Regions from separate parts of the Homo sapiens genome. Here region 1 is linked to region 2. The links are contacts of gene promoters, found by promoter capture Hi-C in blood cells and fetal thymus (Javierre and others, 2016). All regions are on one chromosome and are shown on one strand. The core of a region is centred on a gene start or on the middle of the fragment in contact, and the rest is flanking DNA. Distances in the headings are between cores, read along the strand shown. Region 1 holds the start of PDE4D-AS1 (PDE4D antisense RNA 1). Region 2 holds the start of ZSWIM6 (zinc finger SWIM-type containing 6).

What was found. The method cuts DNA at HindIII sites, captures the fragments that hold promoters and counts their contacts. A CHiCAGO score of 5 or more calls a contact.
Region 1: a contact is called between the fragment with the promoter of PDE4D-AS1 here and the fragment with the promoter of ZSWIM6 in region 2, in 3 of 17 cell types (fetal thymus, total CD4 T cells and naive CD4 T cells). The highest score is 8.5, in fetal thymus.

Annotation. Positions count from the first base shown.
Region 1 is chr5:59,038,290-59,041,616 of GRCh38, forward strand. PDE4D-AS1 (PDE4D antisense RNA 1) reads left to right here and starts at 1,477. Exons shown (of 2, transcript NR_198970.1): 1 at 1,477-1,781. It overlaps PDE4D (phosphodiesterase 4D), which reads right to left. Exons shown (of 15, transcript NM_001104631.2): 6 at 570-682. RefSeq lists a silencer at 846-915. The HindIII fragment of the contact is 4,461 bases long and covers 1-2,852 here.
Region 2 is chr5:61,330,290-61,333,508 of GRCh38, forward strand. ZSWIM6 (zinc finger SWIM-type containing 6) reads left to right here and starts at 1,969. Exons shown (of 14, transcript NM_020928.2): 1 at 1,969-2,659. The coding sequence starts at 1,984. It overlaps LOC105378994 (a long non-coding RNA gene), which reads right to left and starts at 1,927. Exons shown (of 2, transcript XR_007058781.1): 1 at 1,851-1,927. RefSeq lists an enhancer at 59-629 and silencers at 434-1,013, 1,044-1,113, 1,324-1,723, 1,834-1,973, 2,754-2,863 and 1 more. The HindIII fragment of the contact is 10,173 bases long and covers 1-3,219 here.

The sequences.
Region 1 (3,327 bases), core at 227-2,726, 2.3 Mb before region 2:
TTTCTTTCCAAGATTAATGGAAACAAAAGTAATGATCATAAGGAACCTTCTAACTCTGTTAATGTTTCCTGCGGATATGTATGGCCAACTGAATATATAAAGGCTCAGTTCTTGCGGGGTACCCTGACAACTAGATGAATTAGGGTGAAGGTTCCAAGTTCGATGAACTCTTCTGAGTTTGAGTGCCCTAGGTGGTGACATTCAAGTGATTTCACAGACATCCACCAATTCTTATTTTCAACCGGGAATCCCAAGAACACCTTTAAACATGCAATGCCCATGGACCCTACTGGGTTTCTGCTGCAAGGGCTCAGTGTTACTTAGGAACCCTGTGTCTTGGGAGATACTTAAATTTAGCACGTCAAATTGCTTTTGGAAAATGTTTATCTGGCGTGACTAGGGGAGGCAAAGCAAGGAAACAGGAACCTCCCTCTAAGGAGCAGAATAGCCAACATGCAGTAAGCCTAAAAAACCTCTCAATTTATTTCCCGGGGCTATGGGTACCAGTGGCTCGCCGGCATGGGAATCAGCAGCCTGGGGGCACCAGTGACAGCAGAACCGGGGCTTACCTTGTTGGAGGCCATCTCACTGACGGAGTGCCTGGTCTGTAGGGTCTCTAGCTGGTCCAGACACCAGTCCAGCTCCTCCAGGGTCTCGCTGGCCAGTTTCTGGTAGGCCTCCTCTGCGAAGAGACAGGGAAAGGGGGACTCAGTTCTCAAGCGCTTCACGGGTCCGCTAGCGAGTTCAAAGGGGGCCATCCTGCCATACCCCGCCATGCTCGGATGCCCGGTGCCGGCACATGAGGGCTGCTCCTTCATATTGCCCAGCCCGGCAGTGCAACGGGGGCGGAGGCTGTGCTCGCGGGGCGGCCGGCCTCGGGGAGGCACGGTCTCTCCAGCTTGGCGTCTCGGGTCGGCCTCCAGGGAGGGCGTGCAAAGAGCGGCGAGCCAACTTTCACACAGCGACGCGAGCGGAAAAACCACTATGCGACTTTTCAACTGTGCGGCGGGCCCGAGTCCCAGTCCAGGAGCCCGGCTCTAGCGGATGGCGAGGGGGTGGCGAGCGCGCTTGGGTGCCCGCCCCGCAGAGGAGCGTCTGGTCCACAGCCGGATCTCCTCGGTCCCCAACCCGGAGCCGCGGCCCCACGCCCGCCCCGCCTGCCGAGCCTTCTGCACGGCACTTGAAGTGAATGAATCAGCCGCGGCCGGGTGCGCGGCCACCACGTTTCCTGTTTTCTTTCTCAACTCCTCGGGCGGCAGGCGCAGCGCGGCTCCAACGCCGCAGCTTTCCGGGAACACTCCCCCTCACGCCCCTCTCGGCCCTCGGCGCTGCCTGGCTCCTCCTCAACCCCCTTACGAAAAGATTCCGAATTGCAAAAGCCTGTCCCTGTCCGTGCCACCCGCCGCGTCCTTCCCCTCGAGCTCTGCCCCGGGGGCCCCGCCACCTCGCAGTGCCATCCCCCCGGCGCAGCCGGGCGCCACTCGCTTTGAAGTGCAGACGAGGAGGCGCGGGCGCGAGCGTGTGTGTCTGTGGGGCTGCTGTGGGACTGTCTGTGCTAGGAGAGCGGCGGAAAACCCGGCGTGGAGCGCCTGCAGTCCGCCGTCCGGGGTCGCGCCCGCCGCGGGGCTCAGGAGGGACCGGCACGCAGGCGCGCACGGCCGCGCACCTGTCTCGCTAGAACCCCGCGCGCCCCGCCGAGCCACTGCCCTCCAGGTTGCCCAGACCGCTGGAGCCTCTGCGACTCCACGACCGGCTGCTTCCTGCGAAGTTTCACAAACAAGGTTATTTAGGACCCTCAAGGTTTCTGAGGGTTTAAGTTTTAGGGTTTCTGGGGGTTCGTTTCTAAAGGCTTAGGATTCACCTACTTCAAGGAGGCAGGGTTGTGGGAATTAAGACCGCATTCTTTTTCTACCCAGCCCAGTCCCTACTAAGTACCAGACTTCTAAATGTTGGGGCGGACAGAAACAAGCAAACAAAATATACAATGTTGTGGGGTCGGAACGCTTTATAATTCACAAATTTGACAATAGGCTGCATTTTCATATGCCGAATTGCCTAAGAGTTCTCTTAAAGGAACAGCAATGTGAAAGAACCACATGGTAAGGAGAATTTACGCATGTCCTGCATACTACTCCTTTCCCCTGTGAATTGCATAAGACCTAGATGATCTTGGGCCAAGGAAGAAAATCTGGAAGGGTGTTTCTACCCACCATGTGCAGAGTACACTACAATTTTGAGAAAACGGAAAGACCATATTCAAAGGCATACAGAAAAGCCTGTTCTGTTTACAAAGGCTGACCCAGGGCACCAGGGACACTGTCCCTAAGCAGATCAGTTGTGGGAGAACTTTTCTACATTAGCATGCAATAAGCAAACCATTCATAGTGAGGAGAAGTCAAACTCCCAAGGGTCCATTTGATAAAACTTTGTCATTGTCGAGTGGAAAGAAGATACTGAGAAACTTACACTAAGTGGTGGGATCCCTTGTCTTTGTCTTTGAATCTACAGGTATTGGAGAAGAAATTCTGCCCTTGAAATTTAGACTCCATAAATTAACATGGCACAACAAATAAAGTTCATGGACTGAATTTAGGCTCCTGGGATTTTTGAGATAGCTTTTTATGTGAACTTTGTAAAAGTTAGAGTAACTTTTAAAGTAGTTGTTACATGTGCCACGTGGCTTATTGTTATCAAGAATACTTGAACTATTTACTGTTCACTTTGAGTACTCTAGGTTAAAATTTGCCTCTTTTTTGTTCTACTTCCTCCACCCCGCAGTCTATGTAAATATATACTTTAGATGGACAAACAACTGCCTAAACCTTGCCAGGTGAATTAAAGTTTCAGATTGAAGCTTTTTTTTCCCCCTTAACAAGCTTAAAGATATTAATAATTTTAAATGGTAAATATAAAATACCTGCTCTGTATAGCTTCCCCAATTCTAAGAATGTAAAAAATATTACATGCTTGTTATAAAAATTGAAGCATTACACACAAATATAGGAAGTCCATTGTAACCCCACACCCTAAAGATCACAAACAATACTTTCGCCTATGGCTCTAACACAATCATTTTCATTTTACTGAATAACTTCCATATGCAAGTATAGCATCACCTAGTTGCCATGGTAGTGCATCTACTATATGGTTTGGTTTTGATATTTTCCTCTCTCTCTCATTCCCATAATATAGGAATGTAGGAAATTTTAAGAGGACATTGACTTGTTTTATGATCATTTGAGCTGTCCATAGTTAGCCTATCCAGTGGATTAAAGATGCATAACCATTGTGTCTGGGATTTGTTCAGTGCCATCTTTTCAATCATTG
Region 2 (3,219 bases), core at 719-3,218:
TTTTCCTAGACATGGAGGAAGTGCCCAGAAAAATACTGGACGGATATACAAAAACATAATGCCACAAAAATTTTCCTAACAAGTAAGGCAGCTGCGGAAAGTCGGCCAGCGTCCCGACCCCAGGGACCTGCAGCCTGGGACTTGTGAAGGCCCACTGTGTAGCTCGAGGTTTCCAGGGCCTCGGCCCCGAATGGGCGATTTTCTTTAAAACGCCGAAGCGCGCTATCCCTTTAAATCCAGGCTGCAAGGCAGGCGGGTGGGGAGCAGCCAATAACCTTAAAAGATGCGAAAGTGTCAAAGGAGATACAGTTTATCTCCAACAATGGGAGCGGATCAGCACCACTGTTTACAGTAAAAACAGAAGGTGGGGCTGGGAGGAAGCCTGTCTCCGACGCGGTAATTAAGTCTGCGGCTTGGAAGCAGATTTGACCGAGCTCTGTGGAGCGCGAACAATGTCCGCAGGGCTCCAGGTTCAGAGAGGGACTCGCTTCTCCGCCTTCGCCCGCGTCCAGGCACCAGCGAGCTGCACTCTGCACTCGCTCTCCCTGGTCCACCCCTACACTGCCCGGACCCGAGGGGACTGGCCCTGCGGGCGCCGCCAAGGCGACTGAGAGCGCGGCGCGCGTCCCGAGCGCCTGGACTCCGCGCAGCCGGGCGCCGCGCACCCGGGTGCCGGGGTGGGAGCCGGGCCGCAGACCCAAGTGCGCCCGAAGCCGCCGTCCGCCGCCTGGCACGCCGTCTGCCGCCTGCTGGGCGATGTGTGCGCGAGCCCGTGGGGCTTGCGCGCGCCCTGCGGCGTGTGTACTCACAAAGGTGTGTCTGCTAACCCCACAGCCCGGGCTGCGTTCCACCCCGAGCTGGAGAAACCCCGGCCTGGAGCGGGGCCTTGTCCGCGCGGCCGCGGGGGCGACAAGGGCGGCCGGAGCTCCTCGACTTCTAGCGGGCGGGTCGGTTTCCTGGCCCGAGGGGCTGAGGCAGCGAGGGCGGGACGGTGGCAGCCGGCACCGGACGCGGGTCGCGCGGCTGCTGGGCACGTTCCGAGCGCTCTGCGTGTTTTCGGGCACAGCCCTGCAGCCGAGACAGAACGGACGCGGGGCTCGGGGATGGGCGCACTGCAGCCACGCGGGGTTAGCAGAGCGGGCGCGCTCCTTCCACACCAGGTCTGCAAAAGTGAAGTGGAAAGCCGCCGCCGAACGCAGCCATCCTCCCCCTTCCCCGCTGCAGCTTCGGCGGGTGGTGGGGAGAGCTCCCCTGGACCGGCTGGAGGGGAAGCTGGCAGGCGCTCGGGTTTGGCCGCGCCTCCTCCGCCTTCCTCTCCACCCGCGTCCCCCGGGGTCCATGCCGCATTTCTTTGTTTTGAAAGCGCCTCCTCCGCCCAGAGGCTTTTCCCCCGAAGGGCAGGGGGACGGGGGGGGTGGGGCATCGGCCCGTGGGCCCCGCCCTCCATTTAGCTCAGAACCCTCCCCTTCGCTCACCCCCTCTTCTCCCCTTTCCTCCCCCGCTGCGACCCACGAGGCGCATCCTCACTTCTCGGACTTCAAAGAGAAGCTGAGAACTGGAGGGGGAAGTGGGGTAGGCAGGGGGCGCAGAGACCCACCCACCTCAGGCCCGGCCCGGCGGCCCGCCCCCTCCCACGGGAACCCCGCCTGACCCCGCCCTCCCCCGCGTCACAGCAGCCTGACATTCTCACAACCCACCGGGCACCAAAACGGCCCGCCCCCGCCACCCCCGTGTCCGCCAAGCGCTCTATTTATGTTTCAGCCCAGCGATTTGCATAGGCCCCGCCCCCGGCCCTAGGTTCCCCCTATCAGAGCCCCGCCCCAGCTTCTGCGTCACAGCGGAGGCCCCACCTCTTGTGCCCATACAAGGAGCGGCGGGCCCTAGATGGCATCGTGGCGTCGCGACGGCGTGTGCGTGTCGCGCTTCCTAGTGCCGTTTATAGGGTCCCGGCACTTCCGCTGTCGGGTTAGAAGCGGCGCGGTCATGGCGGAGCGCGGACAGCAGCCTCCTCCCGCGAAACGGCTTTGCTGCCGGCCGGGCGGCGGCGGCGGCGGCGGGGGCAGCAGCGGCGGCGGCGGCGGCGCGGGTGGCGGCTACAGCTCTGCCTGTCGGCCAGGCCCGCGGGCGGGTGGCGCGGCGGCGGCGGCGGCGTGCGGGGGCGGCGCGGCGCTGGGGTTGCTGCCGCCGGGCAAGACCCAGAGCCCCGAGTCGCTGCTGGACATCGCGGCGCGCAGGGTGGCGGAGAAGTGGCCGTTCCAGCGCGTGGAGGAGCGCTTTGAGCGCATCCCGGAGCCGGTGCAGCGCCGCATAGTCTATTGGTCCTTCCCCCGCAGCGAGCGGGAGATCTGCATGTACTCGTCCTTCAACACCGGCGGCGGCGCCGCGGGCGGCCCCGGCGACGACAGCGGTGGCGGCGGCGGCGCGGGCGGCGGCGGCGGCGGCGGCTCCTCGTCTTCCCCGGCCGCAACCTCGGCGGCCGCAACCTCGGCCGCCGCCGCCGCTGCCGCCGCCGCCGCCGCCGCCGCCGCCGCCGCGGGGGCCGGGGCCCCGTCGGTGGGGGCTGCCGGGGCGGCGGACGGCGGCGACGAGACGCGGCTGCCTTTCCGCCGGGGCATCGCGCTGTTGGAAAGCGGCTGCGTAGACAACGTCCTGCAAGTCGGTGAGTCACGGGGCAGCCGCGAGCCGTCTGTCCGTCCGTCAGTCCCTGGGTGGGGGGGGGGTGCCCGCCTTTCTCCTGCGGACAGCCCCTAGTTCCGCGCGCGCCCGCACCCCTGCGGGTGTCCTCACTGGCCCGGACGGTCCTCCTGAGCGGAGCGCCCATTTCCTCCCTCCCTTCCCTGCCCCCCGTCGCCCCGGACGGGCCAGCGCGAGTGGGAAATGAATCAGCAGGACGCGCCCCTCCGTGGGCTCCGCGCCCCCGGCCCGCGCTCCCCTACCCGCCCTCCTCCGGGGAGCACATCCTGGAGGGCTGTTCGCCGGTTTCGGGGGTGGATGTGGACAAAGGCGCGGGCGGACGGCCGGCCTCCGGCGAGGGTGTGTGTGGCGGGGCTGTGCGGGGCGGGGGAGGGGGCGCGGGCCGCAGACAATGCCGGCCGCGGCCCGGCCGCTCGGCGCTCCCCCCCTCTCCCACTGCCTGTCGCTCGCTCCTTTTTCTTTCTGGCCCCCGCCCCACGCGATTTGAGGGGAGGGGAATACACTTAAAGCCGCTCGGCCGCCGCT